2 separate regions of the Homo sapiens genome follow, and region 2 is linked to region 1. The links are contacts of gene promoters, found by promoter capture Hi-C in blood cells and fetal thymus (Javierre and others, 2016). All regions are on one chromosome and are shown on one strand. Each heading gives the region's core, a stretch centred on a gene start or on the middle of the fragment in contact. The rest is flanking DNA. Distances are from core to core; before and after follow the strand shown.

Region 1 (6,567 bases), core at 1,781-4,280:
AAAAAATAAATTCAGTGTGATTGTTACCTCCGGGGGGAAACATAAAGAAATAAATTGGAAAAAGCATTCAGTACAAAGAAAGCAATAGTATAAAACAGTAAAAAATAGTTCTTTTTAAAAGGTAGATCGTTGGGCCAGGCGTGATGGCTCACGGCTAAAATCCCAGCACTTTGAGAGGCTGAGATGGGTGGATCACCTGAGGTCAGGGGTTTGAGACCAGCCTGGCCAACATGGCAAAACCCCATTTCTACTCAAAATACAAAAATAGCGGGACATGGTGGCAGGTGTCTGTAATTCCAGCTACTCAGGAGTTTGAGGCAGGAGAATCACTTGAAACAGGAGGCAGAGGTTGCAGTGAGCTGAGATAGCGCCACTGCACTCCAGCCTGGGTGACAGAGTGAGACTCCATCTCAAAAAAGTAACAACAAAAAAAAGTAGATCGTTGTTCATGGGTATTGGTTTTACCATTATGTACCATCACTTATATATTATAAATATTCTTTTATAAATATATCATACTTGAATTAAAAACATAATTTAAAGAAATTAAAATGTTAAGCATTCAAAGAATATATGCCAAAATGTTACATTTCTTTCGGAAAATGGGAAGAGGAAGCATTATGGCATACTGTCATTTTTCATATTCTATAATTCTATAGCATATTTGATCTTCATGATGTTTCTATTTGAAAAAAGATTAAAGATTAAAGAAAAAATAAATTGAAGTCATGCAACATGAAATACAAATTATGTATGATTTGTATGTACAAATTGTATGAGATGTATGTACAAATCATGTAAGAGGACATTCTGGACAAGGCAAGCTCCTGGCATTTGACAGATGCTAATGCTGCTTCTTTTTGCATTACAGGCTTAGACAAATGATGCTTGAGACACACCAAGATACCTGCACACTAGAGGCTGCAGTCACCTCAGAAGAAAGATGCCCCCTGCTCTGGCTGGTCAAACGGAACCAAGTCCGTCTTCCTGAGAGGTTTGGTCCCCTTCAACCAGCTACAGCAGGGCTGGCAATGCCCAGTCCTTGGAGAAACAGAAGAGATTCAACTGCAACTGAAATTACCTACTAAAACTTTCCTTGAGAAAACAATTCTGGTTTTTTCACCATATTCTTATGCTCCCAGGAAGGAAGAGAAGAGGAGTCCTGGAGTCAAAAGTGAGCAAGATTTTAATGCTCAACACACACTGTTCTGTGCCTTTGCACTCACAGCTGCAGCCACTTACATGCTTTTGACAGACACACAGTCAAGAAAGAGTTTGAGGATGGAGTTTGTGCCAACCCTAAGCCAGCCAGGGGAAGAGCATGAGACATAGAAGACAGGGCTCCTGCTCACTAGGGGCTAACAGTCTAAGGAAAGAAATTAGACATGTATATATGGTGTGATCCAATTGAATTGCAAGTTATAGCATGGCTAGTTCCAAGGCATAATTCTTACCTATCCCACCAAATATGCCTAGCACATTATGTATCATCAAGTCTCTATTGATCTATTCAGCCCAAGATATCTATTCACTAAGCAATCATTTCTCAGTTCCCTGATCTGTAGAATAGGGATAATAGTACCTGTCACACCAGGCACAGTGGCTTATGCCTAAAATCTCAGCATTTGGGGTGGCTAAGACAGGGGATTGCTTGAGGCCAGGAGTTCCAGATCAGCCTGGTCAACATAGCAAGATGCTGTTTCTACCAAAAAAAAATTTTTTTTGTTTTAATTAGCTGAATGCGGTAGTGCACACCTATAGTCCTAGCTACTTGGGAGGCTGAGGCAGGAAGATCACTTAAGTCCAGGAGATGGAGGCTGTAATGAGCTAAGTTCTCATAATCGCTACCTTTTACTAAGGGAGAATTCTGACCTGTCCTTCCAGTTTATCTTTTAAGATTTGTATCTTTTATGGTGTGTGTCTGGAACTTAGACAGTAATAAGTAAATATTTGGGTTTAAAATTCTATAGACATGTGTGTTCACATGCTGTATTCTGACACAAATGGGGTAGCATAAGTGCCTAGAGCCCACCACAGTGACCTCAGAGGAGAACACAGAGCTTACTAGCACAAATCTTTGCATTCAGGAAGACCTGGGGTTGAATGCTGCCCCTCTAATTTATTAGCTGTGATATATCCTCTCCGCAGCTCAATTAACATTGCACAAGCCTTAGTTTACTCATCTGTAAAATGGGGACAATGATACCAACCTCAGTTACCGTAAGGCTTAAAACAGACAGTGTTAATAAAGAGCCAAATATAAGCCCTTAAGAAATAGTAGCTGTTGTTTTACTGCTGTAAATGGCAACAGCACAAGGACAATGCTGTGTCCACAGGCACTTGTATGTAGAAGGAAAGAGCCAAATTAAAAAAAAAATAGGAGAAGAACTCAAAAAATACATAAAGGCTCATTGCTCACTGTAGGGTTTTGTTTTTTGTTGTTGTTGTTTTGTTTTTGTTTTTGTTTATTTTTTGAGACAGGGTCTCACTCTGTTGCCCAGATAGGAGTGCAGTGGCACGATTTCAGCTCACTGCAACCTCCGCCTCCCAGGCTCAAGCGATTCTCCTGCCTCAGCCTCCCAAGCAGCTGAGATTACAGGCACGCACCACTACCACCCGACTAAGTTTTATATTTTTAGTAGAGACAGGGTTTCACCATGTTGGCCAGGCTGGTCTTGAACTCCTGACCTCAAGTGATCCGCCCGCCTTGGCCTCCCAAAGTGCTGGGATTACAAATGTGAGCCACCGTGCCCAGCCTATAGGGTATTTTTATATTCCAACTATTAATTCTACTAGCATGTAGCATACATGCATTCACCCTAGTACATATGACTAGCATATAATATGCTTTACTTTTAAAAAATGCTTTATACATGAGACTGATCTTACCATCTTCAATATCCTGTCTGGAAAGCCTTCATTTGTGAGTGCTGTTGAGATCACATGTCCTCCCAAGTAGGACATGGAGTGTGAAGGCCATTGAGTGGGTGTTCCAAAGGGCAGCACAGAATGGAGTTTAGTTGAAGGTGCTGGGGACACACTACCTGGGCTCAAGTCCCAGCTCCCCACTCTCCAGCTGTGCCACTTGAGCAAGTTGCTTGACCTCTCCAGGCCTGGGTTTCCTCATCTGTAAAGTAGGAATATTGATAATAATATCTACTTCATAGAGTTTCATGAGAATACATGTAAAGGCCTGAAACCAGTATTGGGTACATAATAATACATTCTTAAGAGTCTTTATTTCTGACAATGTACCTGAAATGTTCCTGAAATTAAGTTGGTGTTCAATAAAAACATGTTCACTGAAAGATCAGCTTCTTTGTTTATTTTAAGCACAAACTATGGGATCATGTAATTTTTGGTTCAACTATTTCTACTTATCTCTTTCAATGCAGCACACTGGTTCAAAGCAGTAGTAAGGTGTGGGGGAAGGATGGCAACAAGCTTCTCTCTGCTTCCCAGGTCTGTGATGAAATGGAACTTCCCTGCGAACTAGGGGTATGCCTCTGGGAGTAGAAGCAGGGTGATCTTGAAGCGCAGTCGCAGAGCTGTCACCCGGAAGTCACCTGGCAGAACAGAAAACAAACATGATGTGGCCAAATACCAGCTGTCCTTAACAGGAGGGATCTTTTCCATCTGGAAGGGCAGAGGTCATGTAGGTAAAGATTAGATAACAATGCCAGGTATAGGTAAAAGGAGTGTTAAAAAAGGGTCACTTTCATATTTGGGATATTATGGCTAAAATGCCTGATAAAACTGGACAAGACATATAAGGCTAAGACTAAATAATGTCTTCTCTCTGTTAGAAAGAAGCCAGCCAGGCCAGGCATGAGGGTTCTTGTCTATAAATCCCAGCACTTTGGGAGGCCAACGCTGGCGGATCTCTTGAGCTCAGGAGTTCAAGACCAGCCTGAGCAAAACTCCATCTCTACAAAAAATACCAAAAATTAGCTGGGCACAGGGATGGGGACGCTGAGGTGGGAGGATCGCTTGAGCCCAGGAGTTTGATTGAGGCTGCAGTGAGCTGCGATGGCACCACTGCACTCCAGCCTGGGTGACAGAGTGAGACCCTGTCTCAAAAACAAAAGAAAAAAAAAGAAGGAAAGAAGAGGGAGGGAGGTAGAGAGGGAGGGAAGGAGTGAGAGAGGGAGGGAAGGAAGGAAGGAAGTTAAGAAGGGAGAGAGGGAGGGAGGGAGAGAAAGAAGGTAAAGGAAAGGAAGGAAGGAGAGAGAAAGGAATAAAGAAAAAGAAAAGGAGAGGAGGGGAGGAGAGGGAAGGGGAGCAAGCTAGCACACTTCTGGCAAGGGTTGGAGAACATGAGTGAACATTGTCATCCAACTTTCTACCTATCCCCTTGCCCTCAAGGGTCTTTGCAGAACACATCTTTGAGGGCCACAGGATGGAAGGAGTTCTAGTCATAGCCTGCCTCCAAAGTCAAAATATCGTACTGTCCCCTCTTATTCACTCCTGGAGAATTCAACTTCCATTCACATTTCTGTTTGATTTTCCTTAAACCAGGAGGGGAGCAAATGTATTCCTGCTCCCACTCACCACTATAAAAAGACAGAACCTTTAAGAAAACATGTTTTCTGGTAAGTTTGAATGACCTTGATATCCATGTTCAAAGGTCCCACAAGCCCAAACTCTCCATTTCCGTAAGAAATCAAGAGGAATCAGAGAATGGGGACTGCTGCCCACGGGTTGCGGTTGCTCATCCTGCCACAGCCCCTCTTCAGGGCAGAAATCTAGGTTAGGCCACCCAGTGGGGTGTGTGGTTTTGTGATTGCTGCTGTGTCCCTTTATGTGTGTTCCTGTATCATCATCAGTCCTGTGCCAGTAAGTGGCAGCCCATGATGTCACACCGGTCAAACATGACGACTCTTGGTCACCCTCAGAATGGACCCCACCCCCACATCTGGTGAGTGTTGGGAGGAAGAAAGTGATAGCACAGGCGTGCTGAAGGAGCTCTTCCCCGGAAGGAGTTGACGGAAAATAGTGCGGGGCTATCTAACTGGCAGGAATCCAGACAAACAAGAAAATCCCATTAGTGCAGTCCATCAACGAGTTTCTTTCTGATGGTAATTCCCAGGGCTGGCAAGACTGTTAGAAAACAGCAGCTCATACATAGCTGGGAGTGAATATAGGTCTATACTCTTCAAAGCATCATTTATCAATACATAGGCATCAAGAAGGCTATTATCTTCTCTGCCCAGAATCTTCTCTTTCTCTGTTAACAGCTCAGTCTCCCTCCCTTGGCTATTCTTTTTTTTTTTTTTTTTTTTTTGAGATGGAGTCTTGCTCCATTGCCAGGCTGGAGCGCAGTGGTGCAATCTCAGTTCACTGCAACCTCTGCCTCCTGGGTTCAAGTGATTCTCCTGCCTCAGCCTCCCAAGTAGCTGGGACTACAAGCACCCACCACCACGCCTGGCTAATTTTTGTATTTTTAGTAGAGACGGGGTTTCACTATGTTGGCCAGGATTGTCTCAATCTCTTGACCTCATGATCCACCCGTCTTGCCCTCCCAAAGTCCTGGGATTACAGGCGTGAGCCACTGCACCCAGCCCCCTTGGCTATTCTTAAAATTACCTCTCCCTCCCTCCATTCACCATGCTTCCCCAAGAACCTTTACAACCATGCACCTTTCTCTAACTTAAGCCATCCTAGTGAGCCCTTTCATGGGAGTTTGGATTATTGGTCTATAAAAATTAAAGCTGTGTTTCCTTGGAAAGTTAAAATAGAAAGATGTGAAGCTTCAAAATTATTCCCAGTATTTCTCAGTAGTGCTTAGTAAGAGATAAGAATGAACCAATTACTTAAAAAGAAACCAAAGAGAGAACAGATACAGAGCCCCAGAGGTATTTCAGTCCTGGACGTGGTTGTTCCCAAGGCCCAGTTCCTATATTCTGTATTCCTTTTTACCTAAGGCACTTAACACTGAAATTACATCATTTGCAAACAAAAGTGCCCTAACTCATATAGCATCAAATATATACCCTTTGACACTCTGGAGACATATTGTTAACTCACAAAGGGAAACTAACACAATCCATTTCTGTTTTTAAGAAAAATACATGTATGTATATGTTAAGAAAAATATGGAAGAATCTAGACCAAAGGTCCAAGAGTAAATATTTCTAGACAATGGATTTTTGGAGGACGGCCTCTCTGAATTTTCTAAATTTTTCCCAGCTAGCATGTATTACTTGTAACAAAAAGTAAGCCACAGAGATTTTTTATTTTTATGTCTTTTTATTTTTCCCAAAGCTATACATGTACAAGGTTTAAATTTTTAAAGCTTATAATGTAAAATAGTAATCCCCTGCCCCACTCCCAATTTCCAACTGTCAGGGCTATCCAAATTTAAAACAATAAAAATATGTAAGGAGAGAACACAGGTCACTATGGCAGATGAAGTTTGGCAGCCTGCTGTGAATCAGATCTCACCATCCTTGCTGTACATCTGGCCATTCCTTCACCTAATGGCTCTTTCAAAAACAAGGCTGAGTTTTACCCTAACTCACCATTCACTAAATCACCATTCAGTGTCCCCCTAAATCCCTACAGACA
Region 2 (6,567 bases), core at 1,723-4,222, 530 kb after region 1:
ATGCATATTTAGCATAGTTTTTACATTGCTGTGGAAATAACTAAAAAAGAGACAGCCTTGCATTATTTCATTTAATTCACAAACATCTTTTAGATTCTGCACTGCCTTAAGACTTAACCTAAAAAAGCAAGGCTGACGCTTTTTTAGCTACTTCCCTTGTTAAGTTTAATGGGAGAATATCCACAGAAAAAATGGAAACCTGTGTGTTTAAAGTCACCAGGACACTTGACTTTCATCTCACTTGAAAGAGATACACAGTGAAGATTTAGAAAACCATACCAAGGACATTTTCTCTAGTTGATTTATTATTCAAAGTGCCTTGGTCGTGTATGGAAAAAAATATAAATGAAGACAAAATTGTTCTATATTTGAAGGAGAGTGAGAGATTTGGGGTTTTTTTTTTTTTTTAGTTATTTTTATAAGGGGCTAGGGATATTTTTAGTAATGAGGTTGTGTTAGATGTATCAGCCAGATGTAGTGATATTAGGATTTTTATTGATATGCATTTAAATAGTTCACAAGTATTTATTGTCAGTCATTTTATTTTTTATATCAATAAACAGTTTTTCTTTGAAAGCTGTTTTTAAATTGTGGCATTGATGTCCTAATCTCTTACATAAAACTACCTCTCCCTTCATAGATACAGCTCCAAAAAGGCTGACATGATGCTTCTGAATAAAATACTATTGCTTAGACTATTATTTAGTCTCCAGGCATCAAATTCTCCAAAATGGGATGCTACAAAACAAAACCAATCAGCCTTCTTTTTAGTATTTTTTTTTTATTAATCAGATCTTACTTGTAAAAGATACATTAACTATTTTCTTTATATTCAGTTAACTGAACATTAATGAGTGTCTCCTGTGGGTCCAAGTGTGCTACTTAGTGTTTCTGAGGGAAGTTGAATAAAGCTCAGTGCTAGCCTTCAAGGCGTGTTCTTTGAATAGAAATTTAGGTTAGAAAAAGACTTTCTTAGCTAGGCATGGTGGCTCATGCCTGTAATCTCAGCACTTTTGGAGGCTGAGGCCGGTGGATCACTTGAGGCCAGGAGTTCAAGACCAGCCTGGCCAACATAGCAAGACCCTGTCTCTACTAAAAGTACAAAAATTAGCTGGATGTGGTTGTACATGGCTGTAATCTCAGCTACTCGGGAGGCTGAGGCAGGAGAATTGCTTGAACCCGGGAGGTGGAGGTTGCAGTGAGCTGAGATCACGCCACTGTACTCCAGCCTGGGTGACAGAGCAAGACTCTGTCTCAACAACAACAACAACAACAACAACAAAAAAAAAAAAAAGAAAAAGAAAAGGTCTTTCTCTTTTGAAGATATTTCAGGAATGGATTTTAACATGTTTGTTTACCCAGAAACCTTTTCGGCGAGGTAGATGATGATGAAGTGTTTCTTTGTTTGTTCTTTTGTTGTTTTTTTGAGACAGAGTTCGCTCTTGTTGCTCAGTCTGGAGTGCAGTGGCGTGATCTCAGTTCACCACAACCTCTGCCTCCCCGGTTCAAGCAATTCTCCTGCCTCAGCCTCCCGAGTAGCTGGGATTACAGGCATGTGCCACCATGCCCTGCTAATTTTTTTTGTATTTTTAGTAGAGACGAGGTTTCTCCATGTTGGTCAGACTGGCCTCAAACTCCCAACATCAGGTGATCCACCCATCTCTGCCTCCCAAAGTGCTGGGATTATAGGCGTAAGCCACTGGCCCGGCCATGAAGTGTTTTAATAGAGCACTTTATCTTTTCAAGACAATGGCAACTCAGTACCTATCCATAATAGTTGTAATGTTAGAAAGCTTTAAATGGTACCCGCTGTTTTCCCACAAGCATTGATAACATGTTTGAAACTCTGGTTCATGAATTAGTTTGGTTTTCAGTTACAGCTTTCTTCCTGGCTACCATAATGGGTGTGAGATTTAAGAGGTCCAAGAAAATAATGCCTGCTGGTTTGGTTGCAGGTTTAAGGTAAGTAAAACTATTTTGATCAATACTTTCCTCTGCTGTTGTTTTGAAGTGCTGAATTTTTGGGAAACATCAATTTTAATTTGAAAGATCAAAGTCCTTTTTGTTATAATAAGCATGACAGTAAAAACCTTAAGATAGCATGGATTCAGTGGGTCTTTGATATTGATGTACCCATGAACATTCTTATTGGATACGCATAGTGTTGCTGTAGTATCTGGTCACATAGGCATACTTGCCTTTTTCAGAAGAAAGAGCTAACTAAACTCAGCCTCATTTTTCCTCAAGATTCACCCATCTGCAACACTAAATGTGTTCATTTAAATCTAATACTCAGTCCCTTTTAGAGAGTTTGACAGAGTGACAGTGTGATACAGTTATTTCAAGTTTTTAAGGGACAGAAATTTAATATTTTTAAGAGTTTTTAAGAGAGAAGTTTTAATATTTTTTAAAAGATAAACAGAGGGCCTCAAGTTTCTCTTAATTTGATCCAGTAATTCTATCCATGAGATTAAGCATATTACCAAATAAAAATTTAGAGATAACATTTTAAAAATTTCTCCAGAAAGCTGGCTTTATATGTTGAAAGCCATAAACATGTTTATTTCCTTTGATAGACATTTTCACTTTTTGGAATTTATTCCAAAGCAGTGAGATATGCACAAAGACTGATGTTCATTGCAACTTTATTTCTAGTGAAAACACAATAGACTGAAAAATTAGGAACAACCTAACAGTTCACCAGTAAGGAGATGTTTGAAAAAATGTTTTGTCCATTTAATGGAATATTGAATGAGCATTACATTTTTATGTTTTCAAAAATGATTTGGTGGCATTGGAAAATCTTAGTGACATAATAAGGTATAAAAACAGGATGAAAACAACCACATATAGTGTGATTAAAAAAAGTTTGTGTATAAAAAAACAGGAAGGAAATATTTCAAGCTGTTAGTGTTTTTCTGTGGGTGATAGTGTGATGAATAATTGTAATGTTCCTCTTTCTACTTTTGTGTAGAATTTTCTAGTGTGACTATGTATTATGTTTCAGGGAGGGGAGGAGGAGTGTGATTACAAAAGACAGCTTTCCAGTTATAGCCCTGTTCTAAAAGTGATACTTGGTGGTGGGAAGAATCAGAAGTAGGGTTTATGGGCTGGGTGCGGTGGCTCATGCCTGTAATCCCAGCACTTTGGAAGGCTTTGGCGGGTGGATCACTTGAGGTCAGGAGTTCAAGACCAGCCTAGCCAACATGGCAAAACCCCATCTCTACAAAAATTAGCCAAGTGTGGTGGCGGGCACCTGTAATCCCAGCTACTTGGGAGGCTGAGGCAGGAGAATTGCTTGAGCTCAGGAGGTGGAGGTTGCAGTGAGCCGAGACTGCGTCACTATACTCCAGCCTGGGTGACAGAGTGAGACTCCATCAGAAAAAAGAAAAAAAAAAGGAAGAAAAAATGAAGTAGGGTTTATGGATCCGGAAGAAGGCCTCAGTTAATAGAAAGTAGCTGAGATTGAATTAGTAACTGCCCCAAGTTGGTCCTCGATTATTTTTTCAAGTTGCTTTATTTTACTAGCTTCTGAAAGTTTGTTTCTTCCCAAACCTTTCTCTTATAAACCCTCATCCAAGGTTTTCAGAACAACAGGTTCTGATTTTTCCTTATTCATTTAGCGAACATTTTAAAGTGGCTAATTCAGTTATGTCTGGGATGTTTTAATCCTCCAAGGGGTTGAGCTGGGAGAGCCCCCAAGCCAAGGATTAGTAACACTACTGGGTAGGCGAGTGCATGGCCCTTTCTGTCTTATGCCAGATAAAAGTGACTCTCCCTTTGTCTTTGTTTTATTTTAAATCCAGCCTCATGATGATCCTGAGACTTGTCTTGTTGCTGCTCTGAGCATCTGGAGGAACAGAAAACTAAGTTCATGTCATCCTGCTGTAATGGGCAGAGCATATTTTTTTTGTATTTAAAAGATAAACTTCAATATGGAATGCTAGAAACACAAATAGCACTGTCACCTCTAATATGAACATTAGTTTGAGGTAGTTTTTTTCTAAAGCAAAAATTTTAACTGTTTTCTAATTGTCAAGCACTATTTTCATTAAAAGTGTCTAATGAATCATGATATACTCTTCCATTTGTTGTGTCTATTTTTTATATATTTGGTATTTTTTGAAAATTCCAAATACTCATGTCTCAAGTAAGCTTAAACTACAACTTGTCACATAAAGGAAGTCTTAAGTGGAGTTCACAGAATGATAATGTATCTATTTGTCATTTGTGTTATATTTGAAATTATTAGAAATTATGCTTTTTCCATTTTAATTGTATTGCTGCCAGTGCTATTTTTTTCTTTAAAAAATTTTATTCTTAGCACACTGTTATGTCCTAACTGAATGTATTCAGTATTCAAATAAAAGACATTTTGGTTCAAACCTGTTTCTTTCATGTCAGTTTTTCCTCTGAATACTCAAATCATCTTTGACATTTAAATATTCAATTATTAACGAAAAGGGTTGAGAAGGAGGGTTTATTTAAGCCAACATTCTACTTCCTGAGGCGTAGATATTTTTTCTCTCTGAAAGAGTAACGATTCTGAAACAAACTGATTTTGTTTCAAATTACCACTTTATTTTTAGGCATAGTTATAACTTTTAATGTCCAAGGCACTTTTAGGGCCCAAATTGAACATCGGGAGACCTGAATCCCAGCCCAATTCTTCCACCCACTTGATGCTCTTTGGAAGGTCATTTCCTTTTCCTCTGACTCAGTTTCTCATTCTTAAGGAGGAATTGAACTAAATGATCAACCCTTTAGAGCTCTAAAAATCTACAGTTCCTATCCTGTTGGTTATGTGCAGTGGTGTCATACTTCAAACCCTTTCTTTAAGTGAAAGCGTAGGGTCCTCAACTGATAACGGCAGAGTTCATATGGTTCTGTTAGATTGGTTACCTTTCCCAACTGACTTTCAAGGAGGTTGTTAAACTTTCAGTGATAAGTAATTCAATTAAGGGAAGAAAAAAGCTGTACCAGTTGAACCGAATAGGAAATCTAGATAAAATTATTTGATGTACTTAAAAAAATCCCAATTTAAAGAAGAAGAAAGAAAATCCCATAAATCCTAATGGTGGCAAAGAGGTTGTTACCACAGGCAAGGCTGGAAAAAGCCGTCATCATTGAGGTGCTCTGCTCACTTGCTAGCTGTCAGAGATGACTGAGGAGAACCTTCAGATTCAGACTGACAGCAGCTTATAGTCAAAACTGATTACGATACTGAAGTAGAAACTAACTGTGAAATTGATCCTAGAAATACATGCTGTGTCTGCAGAATACTCTAGTGATTCAAAGTTTAAGAAACTGGTTTGAAGCTATGCTGTTCCCTGGACTTTTCCCAAAAGGTCATAGAAGTGAATGATAGTGATGTGTGTGCTTTTTTTGTTTTGTTTTTAAAGAAATCTTTGGCATCCATTTGCATATTTGTGATTTTACTCTTTTGCAATACGTAGAATCCAGAAGGATTCATATTTGGATGGCTCTGATTAATTGGTGTTTTCTTGTTTTATGAAAAGTAGAAGAGGCTCTGTAACTTACAGGTATTAGGCAGTTTATTTCCTCATGTCTTATTACTTTATTACATTAATGTGGCTTTATGATATTTTTATGGGTCTGCTACCAATGCATAGTGAAATATTTACTACGTTTCTTAGACTTTGTTTCATTTGTTAATACTCAGCTACTGTAGTGCTCATGTTTTTAAGAAACAGGCCATGTTCAAATTTAAATATATTCTTCACAGTCTCAATGGATTCTTCATCCAGTGGAGGCTTCCTTTGGCTTCCAGGTTGGAGAAATTTATTAATTGTGGGGATGTGGCTGATTCTGGCCTTGAATTTCTAAAATGCAAAAGAATACTATCCAAGAGAGAAGAATATAACAAAACAAAGTAAAATGCAAATGAGCCACATTCTGGTGGAGGTGGGGGATAATTGGGATTTTCATACATTGTGGACATTGCAAAGTGATACTGCCACTTTGCAAGTTAGCAATATTTCTCAAGAACCACAAAAACGTTCATAGGCTGTTACGAAGTGATTCCATTTTAAAAATTGTGTCCTAATGATGTAATCTTAAATGTGGAAAAATCTATACCTACAAAGATATTGTTGCAACACTATTTATAAAAACAAACATTCTAAAGCATCCTGGTATACAATAAAGAGAAGTCCTCATTTTTCTTATACCAGAAGCATTTTTCATGTTATGTAATCTTTGAAAACTTTAAGTGGCTGCATAGAATTCTATCCAATGAACATATCCTCATTTATATAGATGTTTCTCAGTTTAATATTAGACATTTAAGTTGTTTATGATTTTCACTATTTAAAATCAGGTTAGGCTGTGGCATGGGTGAAAGTGGCCACTTTGGCGGTGCCTCGTCCTCACAGCTAATGGGAAGCAAGCGTGTTCTAGAAAGCCAGAGTCTCCAGCGACCCCTCTTACCACCATCATGGCAGTCCCAGGTTGCAACAAGGACAGTGTCAGAGCAGGCTGTAAAAAATATGGCTTCCTGGTCACCTGACTTTTGAATGCTGCAACTTTCTCCAAGTAGACCCCAAA

Evidence for each region. The method cuts DNA at HindIII sites, captures the fragments that hold promoters and counts their contacts. A CHiCAGO score of 5 or more calls a contact.
Region 2: a contact is called between a fragment that was not itself captured here and the fragment with the promoter of LINCMD1 in region 1, in 6 of 17 cell types (naive CD8 T cells, total CD4 T cells, total CD8 T cells and 3 more). The highest score is 6.6, in naive CD8 T cells.

What each region holds. Positions count from the first base shown.
Region 1 is chr6:52,147,993-52,154,559 of GRCh38, forward strand. LINCMD1 (long intergenic non-protein coding RNA, muscle differentiation 1) reads right to left here and starts at 3,031. Exons shown (of 3, transcript NR_131248.1): 1 at 2,890-3,031. MIR133B (microRNA 133b) reads left to right here and starts at 931; the gene lies at 931-1,049. RefSeq lists an enhancer at 4,859-5,153. The HindIII fragment of the contact is 4,773 bases long and covers 1-3,442 here.
Region 2 is chr6:52,682,204-52,688,770 of GRCh38, forward strand. TMEM14A (transmembrane protein 14A) reads left to right here. Exons shown (of 5, transcript NM_014051.4): 4 at 1,875-1,962; 5 at 3,807-4,385. The coding sequence ends at 3,846. It also overlaps the pseudogene GSTA8P and the pseudogene SREK1IP1P2. Among named protein-coding and RNA genes, the nearest start is that of TMEM14A, 14 kb to the left of the region's middle. The HindIII fragment of the contact is 2,362 bases long and covers 1,792-4,153 here.